2 separate regions of the Homo sapiens genome follow, and region 1 is linked to region 2. The links are contacts of gene promoters, found by promoter capture Hi-C in human tissues and cell types (Jung and others, 2019). All regions are on one chromosome and are shown on one strand. The core of a region is centred on a gene start or on the middle of the fragment in contact, and the rest is flanking DNA. Distances in the headings are between cores, read along the strand shown. Region 1 overlaps LOC124903166 (a long non-coding RNA gene). Region 2 holds the start of DNAJC15 (DnaJ heat shock protein family (Hsp40) member C15).

The links. Contacts are between HindIII fragments. The study calls those that stand out against the background at their distance.
Region 1: a contact is called between a fragment that was not itself captured here and the fragment with the promoter of DNAJC15 in region 2, in 1 of the 25 tissues and cell types used here (hippocampus).

Annotation. Positions count from the first base shown.
Region 1 is chr13:43,813,887-43,817,357 of GRCh38, reverse strand. It overlaps LOC124903166 (a long non-coding RNA gene), which reads right to left. Exons shown (of 3, transcript XR_007063773.1): 3 at 2,542-3,093. Among named protein-coding and RNA genes, the nearest start is that of ENOX1, 29 kb to the right of the region's middle. The HindIII fragment of the contact is 3,357 bases long and covers 381-3,471 here.
Region 2 is chr13:43,021,194-43,025,002 of GRCh38, reverse strand. DNAJC15 (DnaJ heat shock protein family (Hsp40) member C15) reads right to left here and starts at 1,417. Exons shown (of 6, transcript NM_013238.3): 1 at 1,269-1,417. The coding sequence starts at 1,376. RefSeq lists enhancers at 919-968, 1,479-1,528, 1,539-1,598. The HindIII fragment of the contact is 4,695 bases long and covers 1-2,422 here.

The DNA of each region.
Region 1 (3,471 bases), core at 810-3,309, 790 kb before region 2:
AGCCACCATGCCCAGCCCAATATTTGATACATTTTGAGTTGATTTTTGTATGTGGTATAAAAGCAGGGGCCAACTTCATTCTTTTGCAAGTAGATACCCAGTTTTCCCAGCACCATCTGTGGAAGGCTGTTTCTTCCTCATTGTATGGTCTTGGTCCCCTTGTCAAAAATGTTTTGACCATCTATGTGAGAGCTTGTTTCTTGGCATTCTATTCTATCCTGTAGGTCAATGTGGCTGTCTTCATGCCAGAATAATCTTTCGTTTGTGACAGAAGTAGCAATTATTTTCCCCAGCTTGTCATTTGTCTTTTTACTTTTTTATATTACTTTTGCCATGCAAAAGTTGTTTTATTTTTATGTAGTTGAACTGATCAATTGTTTTACTGTTTTTGTATTTTGTGTCATAGTTAGGAAAGTTTTTCTCATACTCAGCTTATTAAGAAATATGTCAATGTTTCCTTCTAGTACATGAATAACACCATGTCAATTTATCTAATAATTGTTATCTTCAATTCTACTACAAAGTGTCCATATAAAAAGAGAAATTGACTCCTTTTAGTGAATCCATAATAAGAAACCAAATTGAAAAACACTGCAAAAAGACTGATGGCCAAGCTCGAACGTAATGTTTTGTTTATAATAATGATGGCAGTGATGATAATGACAGCTATTGTCTGGTGACTTCATAATCAGCACAAGGCACTGTAGGAGATCTTTGCATATACTAAGTACAGAAAAAGAAAAGCACAGCTTTTAAGAGCTTTAACTTCGGATTTACATAAACTTGAGTTCAAATATGTGTTTTATTAGATTTTATTCCAAACTCTCTCACTTACTGGTTGTGTGACTTTGGGCGAGTTTCTTTTGTTCATTAAATCTCATTTTAAAAATCTGTAAAATGGAAATAATAATAGGATTACTTCATGGAGTTGTAAGATTAAATAAGATAATGCATATAAAGCCCTCAGTGATTAGCATTATGTATTTAATACACATTAGCCACTGTTAATCACCAGTTTAGAAATGAAATTACTAAAGTGATGAGAAATTAAATAAAGTCATTTAATTAGTAAGTGTCAGAACTGGAATTCAAACCCAAGCTTTAATCTGTTTTCACTCCAAAGTTCTTACCCCTCTTCTACATCAGTAGAAAGTATTTTTTATATGAATACTGATTTTTAGAAAAGCCTTAGAATAGAGCATACTGGAATGTTAAGGAAACAGCTTTTTTTAAAAAAAAAAATTAGAAACAATGGCTTTATTTATTTATTTATTTATTTAATTTTTCTGAGACAGAGTCTTGCTCTCTCACCCAGGCTGGAGTGCAGTGGCGCAGTCTTGGCTCACTGCAACCTCCTCCTGCTGGGTTCAAGCAATTCTCCTTCCTTAGACTCCTCAGTAGCTGGGATTACCGGCATGTGCCACCACACCCAGTTAATTTTTGTATTTTTAGTAGAGAGGGGGTTTCACCATGTTTGTCAGGCTGATCTCGAACTCCTGACCTCAGGCAATCCGCCTGCCTCGGCCTTCCAAAGTGCTGGGATTACAGGTGTGAGCCACCACGCCTGGCCAGAAACAATGGTATTTACAAAAGAAACTTAGTGTACAAAAACATAGTGCATTACCCCATGATCATTGCCTCTTTGTCCACAATCAAATGGGATGTATTCAAAATTTTTGAGCTGAGAAGTTAGAGAAGAAAAGGACTGAGAACGTGTGGCTAGATTGGGTAATTAAAATCCTATGGCTGATTGTTAAAGCAGAAACCACAGTATGTGTGGTTAAGGAGCAAGTGTATACCAGCAGCATCGGGGCTGGTGGAGGCTGGATCAGGCTAGCCAAGATTAGACAAGCTTTCTGGGGGCCGAACAGGAACCAGGAGAAGCCCTAGAAGGGAGAGAGAGGACTGATAGCAGGGAGCATTTATTCCTCATGACTCATGTTTCCATTAAGGGAAGAAAATGTCAAATCTACTCCCCAGGAATGGAAAATTATGAGAGGAATGCTTTCAGCTTATCTCTGATTTTCCTCTTTTCCTAGTAGATGACTGATTTATCTTTTGCAAAGTTGGAAGAACACTTAACCCCTGACTCTCCATAAGCCAGCCTGCAAACCAAGTGCAGAGAGAGTGCATTCTGGGCTGCTGTTGTAGGAGAAAATTCAACTCAGCAAGGCTTTTGACCAAACATCTAAAGACATGTTCCCCAGTTGGCTTTATCAATAATGAAGTTAACATTTTGAGGTTGATTCTTCCAAACATGAGAGGGGGAGAAAGTAGTGTGCAAGGGGTCAACAGGCAGAAGCTGAAGCAGGTGAATATCCAGGTGGCATCAGTATGCTTAAGTAACAGTAATGCAGGCAGAATCCCATCCCAAGGTGAAGCATTTCCACAGACACTCTAAACTGTGAATCTAACTGCACTAGTTGCTTTCTTGTGACTAGATTTAGCCTAGAACCTAAGTGCAAGCTCACCCCCTTACAGGTGGAATTTGAGGCCTTAGGTGTGAGAAATAGAAGGATAATATGCCTCAAACCAAAAGAGTAGAAAAAGGGAAATTACATGTTTATTGCACTTTTGAGAAATGAGATAGTAAATGAAAGGCTAGAAATACAATAATTTAAGAGGGGGATTTTCTAGAGCTTGGGCAATAGGACTGTTGCAGAGCTCATGAAAAGGGTGACACTGAAGATGCAAGAAAATAGAAGGTAATTCATGCAGTAGTCCTGGAAAGCCAGGAGGGGACAGGATCCATACAGAGAGGAAGGCATAGCCTTGGGAAGAAAGAGCATTCCTGAGACAGGATGAGAAAAATAAGAGAACGATCAAAGGCAAAAGAAAATTTTAAAGTGAGGAGGAAGGAAATCAAAGGAGCTCTTGTTTAGATAGAGGGTGAGGATAACAGCTAAGGGTAAAAGCACAGAGCTAGTGCAATTGAGAATGAAATGATGTGAACAGACATAAAGCTACTGGGAAAAAAGGGATTGACATTAATGATCTAAGTAATGCAGATCAGAGTAAATCCATGGTGAGCCCACTGAGCTCAGCTTTGCCATGGTTGTCCAGCAATGTTCTGTTGTCCAGGATTAGGAGGCACTGCAAAAGAATGGTTGGCAATTGAATTAATACATTCAATATGTCAAATGCATTTTAATTTTTCTTTTTTTCTTCTTTCCTCCCTCCCTCTCTCCTTCCCTCCCTCATGCTTTCCTTCCTTTCTTCCTTTATTTGATTTTACTTGTAACTGACTTGAAACTCAAACTTTTCTTTTTTAATGAGTTTGGATTTTTACCACAGGGTCATCATGTTAAACAGTTATTCTCTCAATATGGTAGTAGAGTTGTAAACATAGAAGTTATAAAAGGTAACATACCTGGGAAGTAGCTTGCTTACTTTGTTGGCTTATTTTAAAACCAAATTCAACATCTCAGGTTACAAGTGCAGTATTAATATTTATTGAACACCTAAGAAGTG
Region 2 (3,809 bases), core at 168-2,667:
CTATAACCTCAACTCCTGGGCTCAAGTGATTCTCCCGACCCAGCCTCCCAAGCAGCTAGGACTACAGGCTCACACCACCACACCCAGCTAATTTTTTTTTTTTTTTTTTAGCAGAGATGGGGTCTCCTGTGTTGCCCAGGCTGTCCTCCAAACTCATGGCCTCAAGTGATCCTCCTGCCTGGGCTTCCTAAAGCGCTGGGATTACAAGCCTAAACCACCACTTGGGCAATATTTCATATTGAATGTTGAAAATTACCATGCAACTGTGCATATATCAGGTTAAAGAAAATACATGGTTAAAATCAAACCCACCTGTTTCTCTTCAGTTGTTTAATATGGCTACAAAAAACTTAAAAATATGCCGGACGCGGTGGCTCACGCCTGTAATCCCAGCACTTTGGGAGGCCGAGGCGGGCGGATCACGAGGTAAGCAGATCGAGACCATCCTGGCTAACACGGTGAAACCCCCGTCTCTACTAAAAATACAAAAAATTAGCCGGGAGTGGTGGCAGGCGCCTGTAGTCCCAGCTACTTGGGAGGCTGAGGCAGGAGAATGGCCTGAAACCGGGAGGCGGAGCTTGCAGTGAGCCGAGATCGCGCCACTGCACTCCAGCCTGGGCGACAGAGCGAGACTCCGTCTCAAAAAAAAAAAAAAAAAAAAAAAACGTAAAAATACGTATGTGGCTCACAATATGCTTCTGTTGGACAGTTTTCTGTTAGACCCTTCCTTTTTCCAGCTCTACAGTTCATCCTGAATACACCACTTGGAGTTTCCAACTGGGCCCTGTTTCTGTGCCGGAGACTTTGGAGACAGTAGTCCTGGTACCCGAAACACTTTTTCCCCTTCTCCTTGCTGAATGGACTGTTTTTATTCATTCAGATCTTAATTTTTAACTACAGCTTTCTCCAAGAAGCGTCCCTGATCCCACCACGTCCCCTGCAAGACGTTTTTAGGGCCTCCTATGAGATAGGAAAATCCACATACAGCACTTATTTTACTGTATTTGCAATTGCCTGTTTTCTGGTTTGTGTCCCAGACAAGACTGGAAGCTCCTTGAGGAGACAGATCCTCAGAACTGCTCCGTCTTCCACGCCCAGGCGTCAAAGCCCAGCACAAAGCGGTCTCTCCACTGAACAAGTGAGCGCTAGGGCACAGACCGTGAGCGAATGCGGGGGAGTACAAAGGTTCAAGGGTGAGGCGGTAGAGGGGGCTGAAGCAGAAACTACAAGGGAGCCAGAGAGGGGTGGGGGCCGCTGGCAGGACTCACCAGTCTCTGCTGGTCGACGTCGGCGTCTGGCCGTTTGGCCGAGGGCTGCAAGTACTCAGCGTAGCGCAAACTCTCGCCAACTGGAGCGATGACACCACGGGCAGCCATGGCAAGGCGGCCCGGAGACTCAAGGCGCCGCGGCAGTGACTACGAGGCGGCCGTAGGGACAAACTAGTTAGCGCGGTTTCTTCTCGCAGATCCAGTGGACTCTGCGCTCGTTGTGCTATTAAAGGCGAGGTTCCCGGAAGATACCCTTCTCACCCGAGCTGGGTAACGTGTCCCGTGCAAGCACGGGGTCACACTCCGAAAGGAGCCAAGGGCACTGGGACGTTCTTGAATCACACTCACAGGCGCAAAGCCAACGCGGACCCTCAGGGAGCTTTATATACTTGGGCCTGGTCCCTCCCCAGGCCGCCGTAAGGGACTGGGCTTAAGCCCTGCGAACTGATGTTGGTCGAATCAGATGACTGCCCAGTAAGCTCGGAGTCTAGCTGTAGTGCCTGAGGGTGGGCTTGCCTGAGCTTTCCTGACCCCCTTCCGGGCAGCCTTTCTTCCCACTCTCAACTTCTGTTCGCACTTCTGTTTAATGCCACAGTTCTACCACCCCGGGAGAGAAATTAAAGAGGCAATTTGCTTACTCCACCCCCAAGTAAATGGCTGTATTTAAGGTGAAATTACACAGAAGAAAGTTGTGGCCGGGTGCGGTGGCTCACGCTGTAATCCCAGCACTTTGGGAGACCGAGGCGGGTGGATCACACCAGCTTGGCCGACATGGTGAAACCTCGTCTCTACTAAAAATACAAAGATTAGCTGGGTGTGGTGGTGCGTCCCTGTAATCCCAGCTACTCAGGAGCCTGAGGCAGGGGAAAAAAAGTTGTGAGCAAGTAGGTAAATCTTACTCTCCCTCAAATGAGTTTGTGCTGATTTGTATATATAAAAGCCCATTTTATTATTAAGCTTTTTTTTTTTTTTGAGATGGAGTCTCGCTCTGTTGCCCAGGCTGAGTGCAGTGGCGCAATCTCTGGCTCACTGCACCCTCTGCCTCCCGAGTACCTGGGATTAAAGGCACGTGCCACCACACCTGGCTAATTTGTGTATTTTTAGTAGAGACGAGGTTTCACCATGTTGGCCAGGCTGGTCTCAAACTCCTGACCTCAGGTGATCCGCCCGCTTCAGCCTCCCAAAGTGCTGAGATTACAGGCGTGAGTCACCGCGCCTGGCCTCCATCAAGTTTTTAGAGCAAAAATTAACCAGCAGTTGAAGCGTATGGTGTTTTCCAACTTCTGTACCAACGTGGCAGCTCTTTGGCTCCTTATACCCTTTGCAAAATCAGCTGACAGGAAGAAAAAGCTTTATTTTTTTTCTATTCCTGAATTTAAAGTTTTGAGGGTCTATTAATTTGTTCACTTAGTTAATATTATTAGCATGTCTAAGAAGTTAGGTCCTAGAAATTTACAATCTTGTAGGGAAGATAACACTGACACAGAATAATAGTACATACCAGAACATGAGCACATGCATTGCATAGCAGTATAAAGAGAACTGGACTGGGAATTAAACCGCCATTGCAAAATTACAACTGAGAAAGAGATCTGACCTAATCAACACCATCTTGCTTCTAACCTCCAAGCTGTCTTGTACATTCCTGGCCGTAGGCCAAACTAACTTTGGGAGGAATGTAATTCATAGTTTATAGTTTGAAACAAAGATGATAAAAGCCCTTTCCCAAAACAAACCTCCTTCTTGCCTGGGGACTAGACTGCCTTTGTAGGACTAACAAATTAGCCACAAGATCAGAAATTATGACTTAGGAGTCATGCAGCTGGAGGCTACAAGATTCTGACCCTCCCCAAATTGCTGCTGGAGCTAACATCACTATTGTAAAAACTACCACCAGTGCTTGAGATATTTTGCAGACCCCGCACTTGATGAATCAGCTGGCATCACCCAGATCGATAAACTGGCTCATCTGATCTCGTGGCCCCCACCCAGGAACTGATAACGCAAGACAACTTGGACTCCCTGTGATTTCATCTTTGACCTGACCAATCAGCACTCCCAGCTCACTGGCTTCCCCCTACTCACCGAGTTGTCCTTAAAAATTCTGATCCCCAGCTGGGCGCGGTGGCTCATGCCTGTAATCCCAGCACTTTGGGAGGCCGAAGGTGGGTGCATCATGAGGTCAAGAGAGTGAGACCATCCTGGCCAACATGGTGAAATCCCATCTCTACTAAAAATACAAAAATTAGCTGGGCGTGGTGGGTGCCTGTAGTCCCAGCTACTCGGGAGGCTGAGGCAGGAGAATCGCTTGAACCTGGGAGGCAGAGGTTGCAGTGAGCAGAGATCGCGCCACTGCACTCCAGCCTGAGGACAGAGTGAGACTCCGTCTCAAAAAAATAATAATAATAAATAAATAAATAAAAAATTCTGATCCCTGAATGCTCTGGGAGACTGATTTGAGTAATAATGAAACTCCAGTCTCCTGCACAGTCAGCTCTGCATGAATTACTCTTTCTCTATTGCAATTACCCCGTCTTTATA